3 separate regions of the Homo sapiens genome follow, and all the other regions are linked to region 2. Evidence: promoter capture Hi-C in 16 types of primary human blood cells and fetal thymus (Javierre and others, 2016). All regions are on one chromosome and are shown on one strand. The core of a region is centred on a gene start or on the middle of the fragment in contact, and the rest is flanking DNA. Distances in the headings are between cores, read along the strand shown. Region 1 overlaps SV2C (synaptic vesicle glycoprotein 2C). Region 2 holds the start of SV2C (synaptic vesicle glycoprotein 2C). Region 3 overlaps SV2C (synaptic vesicle glycoprotein 2C).

Evidence for each region. Contacts are between HindIII fragments. The CHiCAGO score rates a contact against its expected background, and 5 or more counts as called.
Region 1: a contact is called between a fragment that was not itself captured here and the fragment with the promoter of SV2C in region 2, in 7 of 17 cell types (M0 macrophages, M2 macrophages, M1 macrophages and 4 more). The highest score is 20.1, in M0 macrophages.
Region 3: a contact is called between a fragment that was not itself captured here and the fragment with the promoter of SV2C in region 2, in 2 of 17 cell types (M1 macrophages and M0 macrophages). The highest score is 5.3, in M1 macrophages.

The regions. Positions count from the first base shown.
Region 1 is chr5:76,254,205-76,256,904 of GRCh38, reverse strand. All of the region lies in intron 4 of SV2C (synaptic vesicle glycoprotein 2C), which reads right to left. Among named protein-coding and RNA genes, the nearest start is that of SV2C-AS2, 56 kb to the left of the region's middle. The HindIII fragment of the contact is 1,926 bases long and covers 329-2,254 here.
Region 2 is chr5:76,082,087-76,084,786 of GRCh38, reverse strand. It overlaps SV2C (synaptic vesicle glycoprotein 2C), which reads right to left and starts at 1,404. Exons shown (of 13, transcript NM_014979.4): 1 at 1,275-1,404. SV2C-AS1 (SV2C antisense RNA 1) reads left to right here and starts at 1,370. Exons shown (of 2, transcript NR_183290.1): 1 at 1,370-1,868; 2 at 2,391-2,700. RefSeq lists an enhancer at 2,040-2,593. The HindIII fragment of the contact is 14,928 bases long and covers 1-2,700 here.
Region 3 is chr5:76,233,671-76,236,370 of GRCh38, reverse strand. The region is part of intron 4 of SV2C (synaptic vesicle glycoprotein 2C); the gene reads right to left. Among named protein-coding and RNA genes, the nearest start is that of SV2C-AS2, 77 kb to the left of the region's middle. The HindIII fragment of the contact is 635 bases long and covers 969-1,603 here.

The DNA of each region.
Region 1 (2,700 bases), core at 42-2,541, 170 kb before region 2:
CAACCCCGATCAAGAGGAACTCGTTCATTAAGTCTGTTTAACAAGTTTTTTGGCCTTGTGAGAGCAAAATGAAGATGTAAACTAGACAGTGTTTGTAAGTTTTATGAAGGTCTGTATAAGGAAAATATAATGACATTTTAAAGCGGGGGGCAGATTAAAAGATGATTTGGTAGCAGGCAGGATTCTTGCTGGGAGATGAATTTCCCTGGAAACTGCTCTCTTTCAGAGCTCAATTTGCACAAAGGCAAATCAAAGTGAGTTTTTAAAAGTACCACATAAGCCCTCTGATAGACTGAATTTACAGAAGTAACAAAGGCAGGAAAAAGCTTCTGCAGAAAATTAAGAGTGATGGACACAAGTCACAAAGCTAAAACGTTTAAGGGTTGCTTCATTCTAGGGTGTTCTCAGAAACAGCGGCTTGTGATTAACCCTAGCCAACACTTGAGGGCACCCTGGGTTCACAAGAGACACACAGACGCTGCGCTATTAAAAGCCTCTTCCCTGATGACTTTCACTTGCATGCGTGAGTGGATGTTCCAAGCAATTCAGACTCTGGGGTTGCCCTGAAAGTGTCAAACCTGGGGGCCACAGAAGTGACAGTGATTTTTCTTTCCTCCAGGGCTCGCATTCACTCAATGAGTCTGCATTCTAAGTCAATTGCTGCATTCTTAAATTCAGCCTGGAAAGGTACTCCCCCAGGGGACAGATACAGACTGGAAGGCCAGCCCCACCCTCTAGCTCTGAGGGCCAGAGACTCAGGCAGAGCAGGCAAAGCACAAAGTGGCCTTGGTGAAAGTCTTAAGAACCCAAGGGTCAAGCATGTGCCCTTGAGAGCAAGGGCTGCAGAGAAGAAATGTTTAATGGGGCATTTTTTGCCTTGCATTTCATAAAAACAACCTAGCACATATTTTGCATTCTGTCCCCTTTATTGATTTTTAAAAAGGCATCAGGCAAACTGGCCTGACACTGTATTTCCTTTCTATGGAGATTGTAAGAATCTGAGCCCTCTTCCCCCAGAAGGGCTGAGATGGGAGCCAAGTTGAAGGAAGAGGCAGGAAGAACTGGGCATTTGGTGGGAGGTGGCTGCGGAGATGAGAGTCTCAGGTGAGGCAGTCCCTCCTCCAGTGGCCCAGTGGCTCAGCAGAACCTGAGGGGTGAGGGGGGCGCATAAGGTGGCCAGGCGTGACCACTCTGATAACGATTTCACCAGGTGAGGGGCTTGGCTTTCACAGGCACGGTGCTGACATGTAAGGGTTACTTGATGGCAACCCACGGACTGGGATTTGGTAGGGAAAATCTAATAGAGCAAAGGGATGCCTGGCTAGACAGACAGAGATCCAAGCTAGGACAGTGGGGCCAAAGGACCACTCTAGGGCCACAGTTAAGAAGGAAATGTGATACATTCCTGAAGGACTAGTGAGAAAAGGACTCTAGAACCAGGGACAAAGGAAAGGGACAACCATGGACATTCTGGGGTGGAGGAAGACAGGGTCCCTGCATGGGAGGCTTGGGTGACATGGGAAGATGGTCTCCAGACCGGCTGATCCTGTCTCCAAACCACGTGCTATCATTATAACCAGAATGCGTTTGTGAATTCCAGTCTGGGAAAACAGACAGATTCAAAAGAGTGAGCTAGAAACATATACTTTATGATTTTGATAATGCTTTATGGTTTTAAAAATCCCTGGCAGGAAAATAAATTTATCTGCAAAACAATCTTTGGCTACCTTGATGTATTAGAAATTACTGGAGAGATCCACAGAGCTTTTTAATGATATTAAGAGTGATCATTAATATTATATGAATAACTGTTCTTCTTTCCATAGGACAGAATAATAGGGAAAAGCTCAAAATCTTAGGTTAACAGAGTATTTCCTGACAGTGAGTATTAAAAAATGTAGACAAAGTAAAATCCATTTGGGGGTGGGGTGGAGAGAGGATTTATAAAAAATAAATATAAATCAACACTTAGAGTCTCATTTGTACCAGGAAAAGGGGTGGACCCCAGCCAATATGCCTGTCTCAGATGCTTTTGATCATTTTCTTCTACCCTCAGATAGCAATGTGATTGTTTCTTGGTTACAATAATAATACATGTCTATGTGGCAAGCAATACAGAAAATAAAAGAAGTAAATAACTCCAAGTTTCATCACTCAGAGATAAACATAATTAACATTTTGGATTTAGTACAATTATTAGTATTTAATTAAGCCATGAGAAGATTTAGTGACAGTCTTGGGGAAAGTAGAAGCTTCATTCATTAAGATTTTTGAAATCTGAATTATGGTTCAGAACACATCAGAGGCAGTCTGTGTATTTATTTCACATTGAATGTTTGGGCATATCTATGTCAGATGTTACCTTCCATGCCTGGAAATTTCCATGGAAAATAGGCAGTTCATAAGGGCTAAAAGAGTGAGATCAAGTGAGTGACACCATTGTAAAGCTAAACATGGAGGTTTGAGTAATGTTTGCCTTCTGTCTCACTCCAGCTGGGGCTCTCAGAACCACTTCCACCGACACTCTCAAGGAATAGATGGAAAAGTAGGGATGCAAATAATGCTGTTATTATGCCACATTGGCTGGCTGGATGTGTAGATGCATTACATTTATTTTTAAATTTTTAATATCTCTCTCTCTCTCTCTATATATATATATATATACACACACACATATATATACACACACATATATATACA
Region 2 (2,700 bases), core at 155-2,654:
GCCGCGGGGCATCCATCAACCCAGAGCTTTTGACGCACACACGCGCGCTCCCAGACGGAGACTCCGTCGCCTGCCCCCGCCCGCCACCCCCGCCCGCCCCTCGCGGGTCTGCATTTGCATCACTCGCACACGTAGAAGGTGACGCGAGCGCCCCCAGCTCAGGCCGTCCAGGCGGCACCTCTAGCCCCCGTGGCTCAGCCCCTCCCCCCGCCCCCGCGCGCCGCCTAAGGTCCCCGCACGCCCACAGATCTGCTCCCGATTGTTCATCTGCCGTGGGGTGCTGGCTGCCCCAAGCCAAGTTCATCCCCGTATTCCGCAGTCCCCGTGGGCCCAGCCCGGGGCGCTCCCCGCGACGCTCTGGAGAAAAGTCTTCCCAGTTCTAGAACCCAGGCGGAAGGGGAAAAGCCCACTAAGAGAAAGGGTCAGAGGGTCGGCTGATGGCTTTTGCTGCCCTCATCGCCATCTAAGATTACCTCGGTAGCTTATTTACTGCGATTGGTCCCTCTCCCCTCTGAGCTTCACAGCCTCGGGTCTGCTTCGCCTGGCCTGGCGCACAGCAGGCGCCCAAAAGGTTTTTGCTGAATGAAGGCGTTGTAACGTAGGAAGTGCAGGCGCTGACAAAGAGCCTCAGCCCCGCGGGCTCCCCTGCTCTCCAGCCCTCTCTTGCTCTCTCTTAGACGCCAGACAGGCGCTTCGGGAATGTATGTGGGAGAGTTTGAAAATTCATGGTGTTTCTTTCAGGCTCTCTCAGCACTTACTGCGGCTACCTCTGCTCTCCCGCCACCTGCACGTCTGCAGAGGGATCCCCGCCGAAAAGTTGAGCCTAAGGCAGCTATGAAGGTATAGGTCCAGGTACCCAGCCCGGGGCTCTAGGCTGCTAGATTTGAATCTGCCTATCCCTGCCGGTCAAACCACACAAGCAAAAAAGAGCGTGGCGGTCGCTGCAGATGCGGCCCCTGCATCCCCGCTGCTGCCCACCCACCTCCTCTGGGAATCCCAGATAAAGTGCGACCCAGTCCCCAGACCTACCCTAGCGAACCCTGGGGTCACTGCATCTATTTTACCCCTACTTTCCTGGTCCCTCTCCAACAAAGGCGCCTACAAAGCAGCGGGCACCTGCAGCCGCTTCCCCGGGGGCAGGCGGGGCAAAGTTGCGCTTCCGAAAGGCTGCAAAAACTTCCCCAGGCTGCAGCGCCCGGCCACCAGTCGGGAAGAGAAATCCAGCAGCGGGGGAAAGTCTCCCCGCGGATGCCCGCTTCACCTCCCCCACTCACCGCTCCAGCCGTCGGACACCCTTGCCCTGAGTGGTGTCAGCACTGCAGCCGCCTCAGTGCGGGCGCCGCTCCGGCTCGCTTCCCCGGGCTGCCTCCGTCTGCCACTCTCGCCTGCAGCGCGCGGAGTGGTGACTCCTCTGAGCGTGTCAGCGGCGAGAGGAGGGGCGGGAAAGTGGCTCCCGGCTTGCACGCTGCGGTCCTCCTCCTCTCCTCCGCCTGCCTCCTCCCCCTGGTGCTGCAGTGCCGGGCGGCGGCGTGGCGAGAGTACCAGCGGTGCGCAGGGAGTCACGGCGCGCGGGGGAGGCGGGACCCGCGCGCCACTCGCGGTGCTCCGGCAAGTCGCGGTGCTGAGGCGCTGCTGCGGTGTGGGACTGGGGCAGGGGGCGGGGAAGGAGAGCCACCTCCAAGTGGTAGGTACTTCTGGAGAAGTCAGGGCTCTGAGTTTGTAGCAGGTGAAGGAGAGGGGCGGCAGTCCTTAATTAGTCACCAACTGTGACTGTGCGTTGCGCACTTGGCGGCGCCCCGGGTCAGGTCCAGCGTGAGACGCGAGGGAGTTCTGACTGCTGGACTCTGTTAGCACCGGACAAAAAGAGGGTTTGTATTCTATTTCCGGGCCTGGGACTGACTTGTTCACTTCGACTTGGCTTCCAGGGAGCAACCAGGCAGAGCTAGGTTGCCTACTTCCCCCAGCCCCCACCCCGACGCTGGAAGACAAGTCCAGAGGAAACTTGGGCACAGCAAGAGCAAACAGAAGAAAACTTCGCTGGGTTAAGTCTACTGTCTCCCCAATGCTACATAGGGCCAGACAGCTGGGCTCACAGGCAGATATTGAAAGTGGCCCCTTAGAGGGGAAACAACCAAATATGAGGGGGGGGGGGTGGAGAGAGAGATAGAGAGAGAGAGAGGAGGAGGAGGAAGAAAGAAAGAAAGAAAGAAAAAGAGAAAGAAAGAAAGGAGGAGGAGGGAGAAAGAGAGAGGAGAGAAGAGAGAGAGAGAGGGAGAGAGAGAGAGAATTTTGCTTGTGTTGTTAGAAACAAACATTTCTCCCCTTGGCGTGCAGGAGAGAGAATTTTGCTTGTGTTGTCAGAAACAAACATTTCTCCCCTTGGCGTGCAGGAGACCCCAACTCGAGCTTCACTGTTCCAAAGCGGTGGGCCAGGCGGCTGGAGAGAAACTCGCTCCCGTGAGGCCACACCCAGGCCTGGCGCACCCACCCCGCGGCAGCAGTGGAGGGCGTCGCCCTCCCGGGCCTTCCGACGCAGACCCTGCCATCCGGATGCTGCGGGAAGTAGGGCATCCTCACGTCCCTGACTCCTCCGGCTCCGCGCGCTCACGGAACCCAAGTGGAGTGGGAAGCGGTCACACAGGCGTGTGCCGTCCCCGAAATCGTTGCTCCTGTGGTGGTGACCCAAAGCGAGACAAAGCG
Region 3 (2,700 bases), core at 37-2,536, 150 kb before region 2:
GGCTGGCCTTCAACTCCTGAAGTGATCCACCTGCCTTCCTCCCAGAGTGCTGGGATTACAGGTGTGAGCCACCATGCCCAGGCCTAGTGTATTTGATTTTTAGGACTATGGACATGTTACTTTGATTTTCAATATTGACTATAAAAGGTAAAATGTATTCTGAAGCTATGAACTAACTTTTACGTGCTATCCATTGTGCCACAGAGCCAGTTTTGTTTGATAACTAAAGAGTTGTCTTAGAAGTCTTTGGGTATGCTGCTGACATGGTGTGTGGAGCATGTGCCAACAAAAAAGTTACCTCATTTTATCTTAGAGAAGAAATGGCTCAGCTAAGGCAAAAGATCAGTTTCTTTGTAAGAAAACATGGGAACCTCCACTGAGCTCTGCAAATACAATTTCTATATTAAGATCACTCTGTCTTCTACAATACATAAATTATTCAATTTCATATAGAACCGGTGGGGGGAAGACAACTCATATCACCAACTGTTCTCTATTTTAATCAATTTAGATGCAAAAAGAGTCATGCTCAGCTGTAGGAGACGCAATTAATGAAATGTACTAAGTAAGTGTGAGCTAAATGGAAAGGAAAAAAAATATGGATTCTTAAAATAATGATGTTTTTCTCTAGATCTGAAAATGAGTCCACAGATGTTTTATTATGCTTGAAAAAAAATCTTAATCCCTTTTTTTATTGCACTAAGCAAAGGCCATGTGAAATCGATAGCCTGGGATTTTCCATATAAGCATTCACAATACACCTCAGTGACAGCATTCTGTGTTCTGAGTTTCGGCCACACTACAAACATTTAATCACACTGCAGTACTCTTCCTATGTAAATGTTTACATTGATATGATTTTTATTATTTTTATTTGTAATTTCAATCTCTCTATAAATATACTTAAAATCATACTGCAAATGTCCCAGCTTCAGACATGTTTTCTTTCACCACTGATAAAGAAAGCTTTGCTGGCTTTCCCTTTACCAACCAATGTATATCATGCCTTAGAAAAATCCATAACATAACCAGAAAGAAAATCTAACGGGGCCTCATTTACCTTGCTGCCAAGACATTTCATGGCATTTCTGCATTTTACTAATGATATTCACTTATTCCTTGACTTTAGGCCTTTCAAAAATATCGTTAAATGTCTCATCACTACTTTACTTCCTTTTTTTTTTTTTTTTGCCCTTTTCTCCATGGATAATTCTCCCTTTGTCTTTTTTCTGATCCTTTTGTGAAAAAAAAAATCACTTAAAGCAAATCACAATTGGGTACAATCTTAAAAGGCCAAGTTAATTACGATAGGAAAAGTGGAATGTTAGCTGGCTTTAAAAGCAAAATGAAACACAAATGCATCGCCTTTAACTGTGTTAGTTCTTCCATCTAAACTGATCGAATGTCCCTGTCTTAGCAAACGCAGTAAATAATTCTGATGAAGTCTGGCCAGCATTTGTAGTTGCTCTAGCTTTTATCTCTTGATTACAGTCACTGTAGGATGAGCAGTGTGAAATCCCTCACTCGTGTCACCTTTCATTATAAATCAAGTAAGCACAGGCCACACTTTTGATTGGCTATGATATACTTCATAAAGGAAGCTTCAGTTTTTCACTGAAGTCTGCACCAGAGGGAGGCAGGGGAAAATGAGCAAATCAATAACCTTTTCCCTAAAATGAAACCATGATTTATAATGCTCTTGCAAAGGGCCAGAATGCTTGTTTTTAAGGACGGTGGCAGTGATTCTGTGGGCAACCAGGAGAAACAGAAGGCTGAAATCAGGTTGTTATGATGAAGTGGAATAATATATCAGAATAAAACTTCATCCCTTTGGATTCCTCCAATTCTGGAATCACAGTACCAAAGACATAAAGCATTTGATTCTTACTGAGTAAAAACTCCGGAAAACTTTCCTCTAAGAAAACTTGCCAGATCTTTTGTATAAGATCATTGAAAGAACACCTGGAATATGTTACACTGAGTTTGATAAAATGGACATGTTATTTATAAATCGTGCTTTAGAATTTGAGTGATAATTTTTTTCAGAAACATGCACAGACTGATATAATAGTGACCCTATTGCTCAGTGTGAACTGATACACTTAATTTGTTGCAGCAAAAAGAGAAAATATTAAATTGCTGTGTGAGGCAGTTCTAGGAACATGTCATAGGTGTTTCTGAATTACTAGTTCCTTCACATTTAAATATTTATTGAATAACACACCATATCATATACTATAAACTGATATGCTCAAATACATTATGGCTTATAAAAATCCATGACATATTAAGCAAATAACATTTGTTTAAAATAATTATATACATAGAAGTCTCCCTAAAAGAGCTTGTCCCTCCATGTTGTGAATTAATGCAATTTCATTGTTATGACATAAAAAATATTTCAATAAAAAACTTCCCAAGACTAGAAGAAATAAAATCAGCCATGAGCTCAGAGACACAACCAAAAAAGAGAATTTTAGACCAATATCCTTGATGAACATTGATGCAAAAATCCTCAATAAAATACTGGCAAAACGAATGCAACAGCACATCAAAAAGCTTATCCACCATGATCAAGTGGGCTTCATCCCTGGGATGCAAGGCTGGTTCAATATACGCAAATCAATAAATGTAATCCAGCATATAAACAGAGCCAAAGACAAAAACCACATGATTATCTCAACAGATGCAGAAGAGGCC